Linked DNA regions of Homo sapiens: region 1 is linked to region 2. The links are contacts of gene promoters, found by promoter capture Hi-C in blood cells and fetal thymus (Javierre and others, 2016). All regions are on one chromosome and are shown on one strand. Each heading gives the region's core, a stretch centred on a gene start or on the middle of the fragment in contact. The rest is flanking DNA. Distances are from core to core; before and after follow the strand shown.

Region 1 (4,957 bases), core at 1,963-4,462, 560 kb before region 2:
ACCTTTCCAGACTAAGTCCCTATTGACTATATTTGCATAAAACTATTTATCTCATTTTGAATTGTTTTGTCTCTGTGTCACTCTCACGTGTTTATTTACCTCCTGCTGCTTCCATTTTGTAAACTGCCGAGAGGCTGTGTGTGCCTTAAGGGCCAGCTTTAATAAATTGCATTTGTTGTGTATTTGTTTTTAATTTCCCCAGATACTTCTGTGTCAGCTATTGCAGGTGACACCCTCAAAACAGCACGGGGATATAAGTCCGAGAGCACCAAATGTCTATACTGTGTTTTCTGCAGTTCCATTTTCAAAAATCGCAAACACATCCTGGAAAGTGTTGTGCCCTTCAAAGTCATTCATAAAAATTTCTTCTAGAGTCAAGATATTTGAAGCTAAAATTTCCCTGGTCTCATTCCAGGTTGGTGACATATGGCAGTGGCAGTGTTAGTTTCGGAGTTAGCTTTTGTTTTTGTTTGCAGTCTCTCCCTACTCTTGACATCCTCCTTCCGAGTGGAGTCAGATTTGAATGAATGAAAGCGAGCAAGAGCATTGTTTGCCATCTGGGCACCAACTACCATTTCAGCCTTGTTGCCCCGGTTGCCCTTTCCTCACCATAAACTTCAACCGAATGTAACAATATGGTAGGAGAGGGATCTCATTAAGCCTCATATCGTAGATTCTACACACTGGATTTTGTGTATAATAGCCATTCCTACTGGAGAGCAGATAATAGTGTTTACCACTGGATAGTTCCCATGTCCTGTGAATCTATGCTTAGTGTTATTGAAAAACTGCATTTACAAAGTGTTTCAGACTTGCCTTCCAAGCATCATTTCACTTCATTCATAACATTCTATGAGTCGGCACTAGTATTACCTGGATTTAGAGTTGAGAAGCAGAGCACCTAAAGGGTAAGTAATTGTCCCAAGGTCGTTGGGGAACTAACTGGCACCGGGATTCCAACCTAGGTTCCAAAGCCTGCCCTCCATCTCCTCAGGGGTCCGAATTCTAGAAGAGGAGATATTTGTGTCCACTAGATGGTGCTGATTGTCCTCTTAAAAAAAAAAATTGGCAGCCACTTTCAGAAACACGTTCCTTTGGATTTTAGGTGTAATTCAAGAAACCACTGAACTGAAGTATCTTGTATGTCTGAATTGTGCCTGGATGCATCTTTAAATAGCCACCCAAATAGGAAAAGTGAAAATTTGATCTCAAAAAAACTGCATTTTTTAAAATGTTAGTACCTATAAATAATATCAAAAAACCATGGTGACTTTGAGACTCTGAAAATTCTCATACATCTGTATTTACATTAAATCAGTAGACTTAAGAAGAAATACATGTTTTATTCCATGTACCCCTTTTATACCAACTGTACTCCCTCCAGCATCTCCCAATCCTGCTTGGCCACAATGCCATCCATGCCAGCAAGGGTCATGAACAGGGAAGTAAATAAAGCCTGAAAAAAACAACAATCAGATTCTGGAACAGGTAACACTTTTTTCTTTTTCTTTTTTTTTTTTTTTTTTGAGATAAAGTCATGCTCTTTCACCCAGGCTGGAGTGCAGTAGCACAATGATCATGGCTCACTGCAGCCTCAACTTCCCAGGTTCAAGCAACCTCCCACCTCAGCCTCATGAGTAGCTGGGACTACAGGCATGCAACACCATGCCCGGTTGAATTTTTTTTTTTTTTTTTGTAGAGGTGAGGTCTCCCTATGTTGCCCAGGCTTAATGCTATTATTATTGAAAGTAAAATACATGTTAAGTATATGTTTCATATGTGCTTAGTACCTTATTTTAGTACATTTTTTAGAACTTAAAAGCTGTGAAATAAACCCGATTCAAATGGGTTGTCAGATTTTGTTGTTGAGAAGGATCAGTTCAGGTGTTATTTAAAATATTGATTCTAGTCCCTATTACATGATTCAGTGGGTCTGGAATGCAGACCAGGAATCTGCATTTTTAACAAGTCCCTTGGTGCTTGTGGTACAGATGAACCACTGACTTCAAGTTAATGTTTTAGAGGGTAAATAGTGGTGAGGACATTGCTCCTGGAGGCACCATGGAGCCCCCTGCAGCTGTTCTACACGGAGGCTGTGAACAGTGACATCCAGCACTTCCTTTGTAAACAGCAGGCTAGAGACTGAAAAATGCTCTCCCTGTAGAACTCTTTCCCTCCTCTCCCTGTCTGCTGTGGAGTGCTGCACAGAATTAGCTGCTGGTCAGTGGATGTCTCCATTTTTTAAAAGATCAAGCTTACAACTTCTCAATGCCTATTGGTCCAAAAACAGTGATGACTTTAGGTTTGTTTTCAGTTAAAGAAGTTAGATCATGTATTGTCATATAACTATTCAACTGGCTCGAGCGATCCGAATGTCAACCTAGGGGGCCACAAACTTCCAGGACATTGTGAAATTGTGTAAAAATCAGTGCACACATACACACACACACACACACATAGCAGTGCAGCTACATGTTTCTGGCCTAGAGGGTTGTTTTTAAAGATAGTAAAGTAAATCAATGAAAACGAAGGTATGTTATAATATCCAGAGTCATTTGCAGGGGGAAGGTGTCATGTCAAGTGGGCCCTAAAGCAATCAGCTCTGCCAAGTGAGTCATTCTCACCAGAAAGGAGAAAAAAATCGGTTTCTCTTCTTTTCTAAGGAAATTCCCTCAAAGTAACAGACTGCTTAACTTTCTCATGATCTTACTGGCTACAAAGTTTGGTCACCCGCAGCAACTCTGTACCTGTAAAGATTTAAAGAGTTGGCAGAAACTTCCCAAGGCCAGCTGCAGTTTCAGTTGCTGGATGCCCACTGAGATTAGTGTCTCGCCCCTGTCAGCTGAATGGATGTGACACTGCTTGCGCATAATGGCTGAAATTGCACTGCAACTATCAATCCTGGGCTGAAACCAACAGATTCTGAACATTGCCCATGCATTGGGTTTCATGCTTCATGCTTTCAACCTACAGGTAAGCTTGTCTCTGAGTCCAAAACCTAACTTCAGTATTGAGCTTGGTCTCTCTGATCCCATAGGGGTTTGTTAGTTTGTTGTTTTAAATTGGATCTCCTGATCTGTGTACTTGGTTGAGGTAAGCAGGTCTATGCAAACCTACCCCCAAAGGCCAAGGAAGCTGAGAGGCCAATGAAAGAAGCTGACAAGTCCAGTTTCTCAGAAAGAAACATTCAATAAGGGCTTACAAACAGAAGCCATGTCTCTGGCGGCCAGAGAGACAGTGGATCCCCGCAACTGCCCTCCAGAAAGCATCTTTTATATAGCAAGATTTTAGGGAAAGATGTGCAGCCAGTCATGCCTCAGGCCTTCTTGCAAAACTCATGACCCCTGGGGTGGTTAGATAAGCATCTCTATGAGAGTTTATCTATGCTACAGGAACACATTGGTCATCTTGCTATGCAACAGGCCGTTTTCCTACAATACTAAAATGAAGCTTTAGTATATAGTTATGTAAGCCTTCATTATTATGTAAACCTTTGTACATATTTTAACAAAAAATAAAGGAAGCTAAAATAATTAAGATGCCATATTAGAAACATTCAAATCAAATATTTAGGGTGTTAAGCAGCAAGGTAAGGAAATGATTTTTCTCAGAGTTAACATCTCAGACATAAAGAAATAAGAAGTAAACCACCCCAGGGGTTTGTTCATCAGTCATGGGTCAGGCTGCCACAATGTTTAAGTCTCATCCTGGCATTCTTAGCTTCTCACTTTATTTCTTACACAATCTTTTTCTTAGCTGGAATCCAAAGTAATGTTTCTATCTGAACATACAGTGTTTATTACACTAGGAACTAGTCATCATTTTGAAGACTTGGTTTTCTTGTTTACATTTTTAAAATTTGATCATCCAAACTCCTTTCTTAATAGAAGCTGGCTTATTTTCCCCTTATTTTGCCATAATAGGCAAACTAAAATTAGTGCTTTAATTTTGTTCAAAATTTGTGATGTTTTATATTTTTGTAATTCATCACTGACACACATTTTAAAATACACATCTCTGGATTTTCTGTCCTGTCTTTGCCAAGAACAGTGTGGCCTGGGCCTAGTCTCTTAACCTCTTTCCACCTCAGTTTCTTTGTCTAGTAAATAAGAGGTAGATAAAGGTTTCTACCACTACTTCCAGCTCTGAGACCCTGTGATTTTCTGATTTAAGCAGTCTCTGCTCTCTTTGGAAATGACCTGCTTCTCAACCCAACATTCATAACAATGTAAAAGGCATCTGCTCAACGTGCATGGCAGCAAGAATTACTTGTTTAGAAACATCTGGGTAATGGTAACAACCATCTGTCTTGTCCCTGCAATTGTCGAACAAAGAATTAAGCAAGCAAAACCACAAGAGAAGTGCCCTATTTTTATAGAACGATGCAATAGAACAGAATTTGTTTAGGTTTTATGAGAGTTGCATATGTATCCCACCTCTGTTATGGAACGGCAAGCCTCTTCACCTCTGCAGACTTCAGTTTACCAGCCTATCTGTCAAACAATGGGAAGATAACTCTCTAGCACTGTTCCTTATTTTGTTGAAATAGAGAAATTAATATGTTCTTGAGACACTATACTGAATTTTTCATTGCACTTGTTAATAAAATGAGTATTTTCATGTCAAATAACAGCAACCATCCAATCCATGCTGGAGAATGAAAGAAAAGCAGATGAATTATCAGGTTCAATTCATATCTGGTGTGCATTAAATGCTCATCTATCTTGTATAGCTTGCTACAGATGATGGTATTTTGGTGAAAATTGCCAACAATTTTTTAAATGAATCTAGAGATCATTACCTGGACCCAAATTTGTGAGAATTTTGCATTCGGGTGGACACTTGCATCCATGCATTCAATTTTCTATCATTCATTGGTCATTTTTTCTGAGTTAAATCCTCTAGCGAGGGCCGGGCACGGTGGCTCACGCCTGTAATCCCAGCACTTTGGGAGGCA
Region 2 (5,105 bases), core at 1,302-3,801:
CCCTCATGGCCTCCACTACCCCAGGAGATGCCCTTCAGCCTCCCTCCCTGATCTCCCGTCTCCTCTTCCAGATCCCAGCCCCTCACCCCAGAAGTATCTCCTCCTGCTCCACAGAGCTCCCTTCTCCATTCTGTGGCTTTCTAGCAGGGAAGTGCCGCCACACTCAGCCAGGCAATATGCCCAAGCACGTGGTGAGCAGTTATCATCTGTAAGGCACAGTGCCTGCTGAGGGGTGGTGGGGCCACACACATGGAGCAGGCCCTGCTTGCCCTCAAAATCTTAAGACTGGGTAGGAGAAGAGTCCATGAACACATACACCCTGCTATAGATCGTCTCCCATGTGCCACCACACCGTGGGTGCCCTCCTCACTTCTCACAGGCCTCTGGGCCCACTCGGGGTTCAGAGGCTGCCCTGTCTTCTCAGTCCACCCCATCAAGGCAGGGCCTACTGCCACCACCCAAGGCCTCACTACTCTGCCTGACTGCTGCTGTAGTGGGTTCTGTGATTGGCACCCACTGGAGCTCAGACCTTGATTCCCGAGATGGAGAACTTAGGCCTCAAGCCTGGAACCCAGAGCACTGGGCCCCCATGCATTCCTCTCAGCCCCTGCTTTCCTCCTGGGGCTTTGTGAAGACACAGGCCTCTCTTTCAGCTTCCTGCCAAAGGCTGGGGACAGAGGTGGAGAGGTTGCGGTGTCAAGATCCCTGAAGGGTAAAAGGAAGCAGAGTAGGGCTTAGAGGGCTGGTGAGGGCGGTGAGCACAGTGAGCAGTGGATGCAGTTGGTAACATTCACACAGTTTGGGCCGGAGCCTGGCAGGCACCATACCTTTGTAAACCTCCCCTGGGACTTCTGCCCCTCCCCAGTAGGCCGCCCTGTCCTGGTTCCCCATAGACCCACAGCAAATGTGTGCAGAAGGGACCAATAGCCTCCCACCTAGTCATAAACCAAAGTCCTTTGACCAACAATGTTAGCAAAGCAGGCTGGAATTTTTCAGAAGAGCATTCCTAAAAGGAGAGATTACCTAAGGTGAAGAAAGGGCCCGGGCTCTAGACTCAAATAGTCCCCAGTTGGGACTAACTACACACTTGGTGGGCGACCTCAAGCAGATTTCTTAATGTCTCTGAACGCTGGCAATGTTTTAATCTATAAAAGAGGGGAAGATCATAACCATTACCTCCAAGAGCTGATATGAGATAACTGATACTGTAAGAGAAACTGGCACACAAACACTTTCCTGCCCACCGTGGAGATAAAGGAGGATCACTCTTTTCCTCCTCTCCATTTTCCAAATTGTATCCTGATGGTGGTTACGTTACTGCTCTAATTGAGGGGATATAAAGGTGACTAAGAAAGCCACCACAGGCCGGGTGTGGTGGCTCATGCCTGTAATCCCAACACTTTGGGAGGTCGAGGTGGGTGGATCACCTGAGGTTAGGAGTTTGAGACTAGCTTGGCTAACATGGTGAAACCCTGTCTCTACTAAAAATACAAAAGTTAGCCAGGAGTGGTGGCGGGCGCCTGTAATTCCAGCTCCTCGGATGGCTGAGGCAGGAGAATCACTTGAACCCAGGATGCAGAGGTTGCAGTGAGCTGACATCGTGCGACTGCACTCCAGCCTGGGTGACACAGAGAGACTCCGTCTCAGAAAGAAAAGAAAGAGAGAAAGAGAGAGAGGAGGAGGAGGAGGAGGAGGGAAGGAGGGAAGGAAGGAAGCCACAACAGCCCCTGCCTCTGAGGAGCACAGAGTCCCCACTGGGATCAAGAGACATCAGGAGCAAGGATCCAGGGAGACAGGAGAGCTGAGCAAGGGCACTGGCTCTGTCTGCAGGGGACTAAGGAAGGCCACCATGGCTAGAGCACGCCAAGCAAGAGGTTGTGGCAGGCATCAGAGGCCACAGGGGTCAGTGGGGACCGGACCACAAGGGGCTTTCGGAGTGCAGAGCAAGCTGGCAGGCTGGGCTCCCTCCCCGCCTGCCTAGATCCATCCCAAAAGTTCCCTTTTCTGTGTCTAATTTCCATTCTCAGGCTAGCTCCCTGGGCTGGGCAGCACATCTGACAATTCAGGCCTGGGGCTTGGCGCCCAGGGCAAATATTCCACCAGGTCCTCCACTATGGTCACTATTTATTCCTCCACCTGCTGAAAGGAGGTAATCATCCTATCTATCTTGTGGGACTCATTGGGTTACTAATGTGTGTGAAGCACCGCATGCCTGGCCTGGCATTCAGTAGGAACTCTACAAATGTTCAGAGCCAGTCCCTGGTGTAAACAGCCTTGCCAGTGTTGGGGACTTCTGCCTGGATTCTGTGGCATCTCGTTACCACACCAATCTGGTAACGGCTTGTTCCCCAGCCTCCCCATCACACACACACACACACACACACACACACACACACACACATCCTGCTTTCAACTGTCCTTTGCCCAGATAAGGATTAGCCCATCCCTCTTCATTCCCTCGAGCCTTCTGCATCTGGCCCTCCCAGTGCACCTGTTCAATCCCAGCCCCTCCCTGACCTGTACAAATACACCTGAGGACAGACAGTGCCCCAGACTTCCTGCCCCTGCTCTGCACTCTCAGGTAGGGACCTGGCTCTACTTGCTGTTGGCTGGGGACAGTAGGGTCTCTGTGGGGTATGTTGTGTGTGCATGTGGTCAGGGTCTCTCTGGGTGTGTATATGCATTGAATTGGTATCCGTGCTTCCGTGTCTCTGCATGAGGGTGTGTGTCTGTCCATTTGCACTGTCCCCACTCCTGGGCTGGGCCCCTACACTTCCACTGTCTTCTTCAGTTATGATTTATAGCCTTTGCCATGCCAGGCAGCAGGGCTTAGCTGAGAGTGGAAGAAATTGCATGAGGTCCCTTCCAGAGCTGCCAACTCCTGTCCCTCAAACACCTGGGCCTGAACTGGGGAGATACATTCTGAGGATTGTCTTTTCTCTTTCGTCTTACCCGATCCTGACTGGCCCTGAGGTTTTCTTTACCTCTCCTCCCCGCAAAGCCCAGCCCCATAGGTCTCTTCCAGCTTTATCACTCACTAAGGGAAAGGACGAGGGAGCACGAAGGACCATGGGTATAGTTCACAGGCTGACCTCAGCTGAACACTTTGAGTACAAGTAGAGGCCAGTGAAAATGGGTAGCTCAAGAGGTGCAGGGGGCCGGGTGCAGTGGCTCATGCCTGAAATCCAGCACTTTGGGAGGCTAAGGTGAGAGGATCACTTGAGCCTAGGCTACATAGTGAGACCTTGTCTCTACAAAACAATTTTTTTTTTTGAGACAGAGTCTTACTCTGTCACCCAGGCTGGAGTGCAGTGCTGCAATCTCGGCTCACTGCAGCCTCTGCCTCCCGGGTTCAAGCGATTCTTCTGTCTCAGCCTCCCAAGTAGCTGGGACTACAGGTTCCCGCCACCATGCCCAGCTAATTTTTGTATTTTTAGTAGAGACGGGGTTTCACCATATTGGACAGGCTGGTCTCGAACTCCTGACCTCAAATGATCCACCCATCTAGGCCTCCCAAAGTGCTGGGATTACAGGCATGAGCCGCTGTGCCCAGCCAAAAAAAATTTTTTTAATTAGCTGGGTGTGGTGGCACATACCTATAGTCCCAGCTACTCCAGAGGTTAAGGTGGGAGGATTGCTTGAACCCTGGAGGTCGAGGCTTCAGTGAGCTGTGATCACGCCACTGCACTCCAGCCTGTATGACAAAGTGAGACTGTCTCAAAAAAACTTTTAAAGAGGCACTAAGGCTCCCTAGAAAAAAAAGAGGTTCAGGGGGCTGTGTCTTGCAAGAGGCTAGGGTTGTTGTATTGGGGGCGCTGTTTGTTTTTGTATGCTCAGCAAACTTGTAAGTACCAGAAAGCCCTGATGTCAAGTATTTGCTCCTGACGTCACATACTACACTCCCATTTGAGGGTTGAAAAAAAATGAATGTACTGTATGTTCACTGGGCCCATTCTGGGGTTGTCCATTGTGACTTGCCAGCCCCAAGCAAGACATGGCCAGCCTTGGCACCACGTTACCTCAGCAGCTCCATCTCATGACAGCACGGCTTGTTGGTGAATGACAAGTTGGCTCAGACTCCAAGCTCCCACCCCCTTCCAATCCTGGTGGGAGGAGACAGGTACAAGCAGCTAGGACCCCATGGAAGGCTTTCCATTCACTTGAGCCCCAGGGCAAAAATCCATTCACTTGTGCCCTCAGGGGCCACCAACCCCATTCCTGTCCTAGCAAACCATCCTTCCCGTCCCTGCACTGGGCACACTGATAGCTCCAAGCTTCCTGCTCCCATGCCATGCCAGATGTTTACACAAGACAAGAGTCTGTAGGGACAAGCATACCATGACCTGGCACAGGGCAGACACACAACATGAATAATTAGCAAATGAACGGATATTGAAATCTTCCCAAGAGGAATCGGATTAACACACAATTGTTGAGTCTAGGGGGGCAAGTGTAAGAGTATGGGGTGTAGGGGCTGGTACATGGTGCTGTTGTGTCTCCATCTACCCACCATGTAGGTGAACCCGCTGTGTCCATTTAACCCCCATGCCTGGCACCTACAGTGCCAGCTCTATATTGGGGCCAAGCTAAGCCGGAGGGAGCAGTTTTTTCCCTTTCTTCCTTTGAAGGGTGTGTGTGTGTGTGTGTGTGTGTGTGTGTGTGTGTGCGCGCGCGCGCGCATCCGTGGGAGGGAGAAAGGAAAGACTGCAATTTAGATTACAGTAAATTAAAAGTTACCTTTTGAACACAGGTATTCCCTGCTCTTACTCCAAAAAGATGGACCCAGGTAAGCACTGTGGCTGAGAGGCTGGGAATTGGAAGAAGGGAGAGAGCAGGAGAGCGGTAAAGGCAGGGACTATCAGTCAGCCATAACTAGTGCGTGCCAAAAATGTACGTGCGTGTGTGTTTGTATGAAGGCAGTGGTAGGGGTCCACAATGAAGACAAGCCCTTACATACTGTAGAACATGTTACAGTTTAAAAAGCATGCTTACTCATCATGTTCTTAGGTGCTTCTAAGGGTAGGTGCTTCTCCCACCGCACACTCAAGGCCCAGGGGAGCTAGGGGTTATGCTCAGGGAAAGGCCATAGAGGTGCAGCTGGGTCG

The links. Contacts are between HindIII fragments. The CHiCAGO score rates a contact against its expected background, and 5 or more counts as called.
Region 1: a contact is called between a fragment that was not itself captured here and the fragment with the promoter of PHGR1 in region 2, in 4 of 17 cell types (total B cells, naive B cells, naive CD8 T cells and 1 more). The highest score is 8.1, in total B cells.

The regions. Positions count from the first base shown.
Region 1 is chr15:39,785,642-39,790,598 of GRCh38, forward strand. No RefSeq gene overlaps it. Among named protein-coding and RNA genes, the nearest start is that of FSIP1, 5.3 kb to the left of the region's middle. The HindIII fragment of the contact is 472 bases long and covers 2,977-3,448 here.
Region 2 is chr15:40,348,482-40,353,586 of GRCh38, forward strand. It overlaps PHGR1 (proline, histidine and glycine rich 1), which reads left to right and starts at 2,552. Exons shown (of 4, transcript NM_001145643.2): 1 at 2,552-2,581; 2 at 4,751-4,786. The coding sequence starts at 4,777. The HindIII fragment of the contact is 24,416 bases long and covers 1-4,272 here.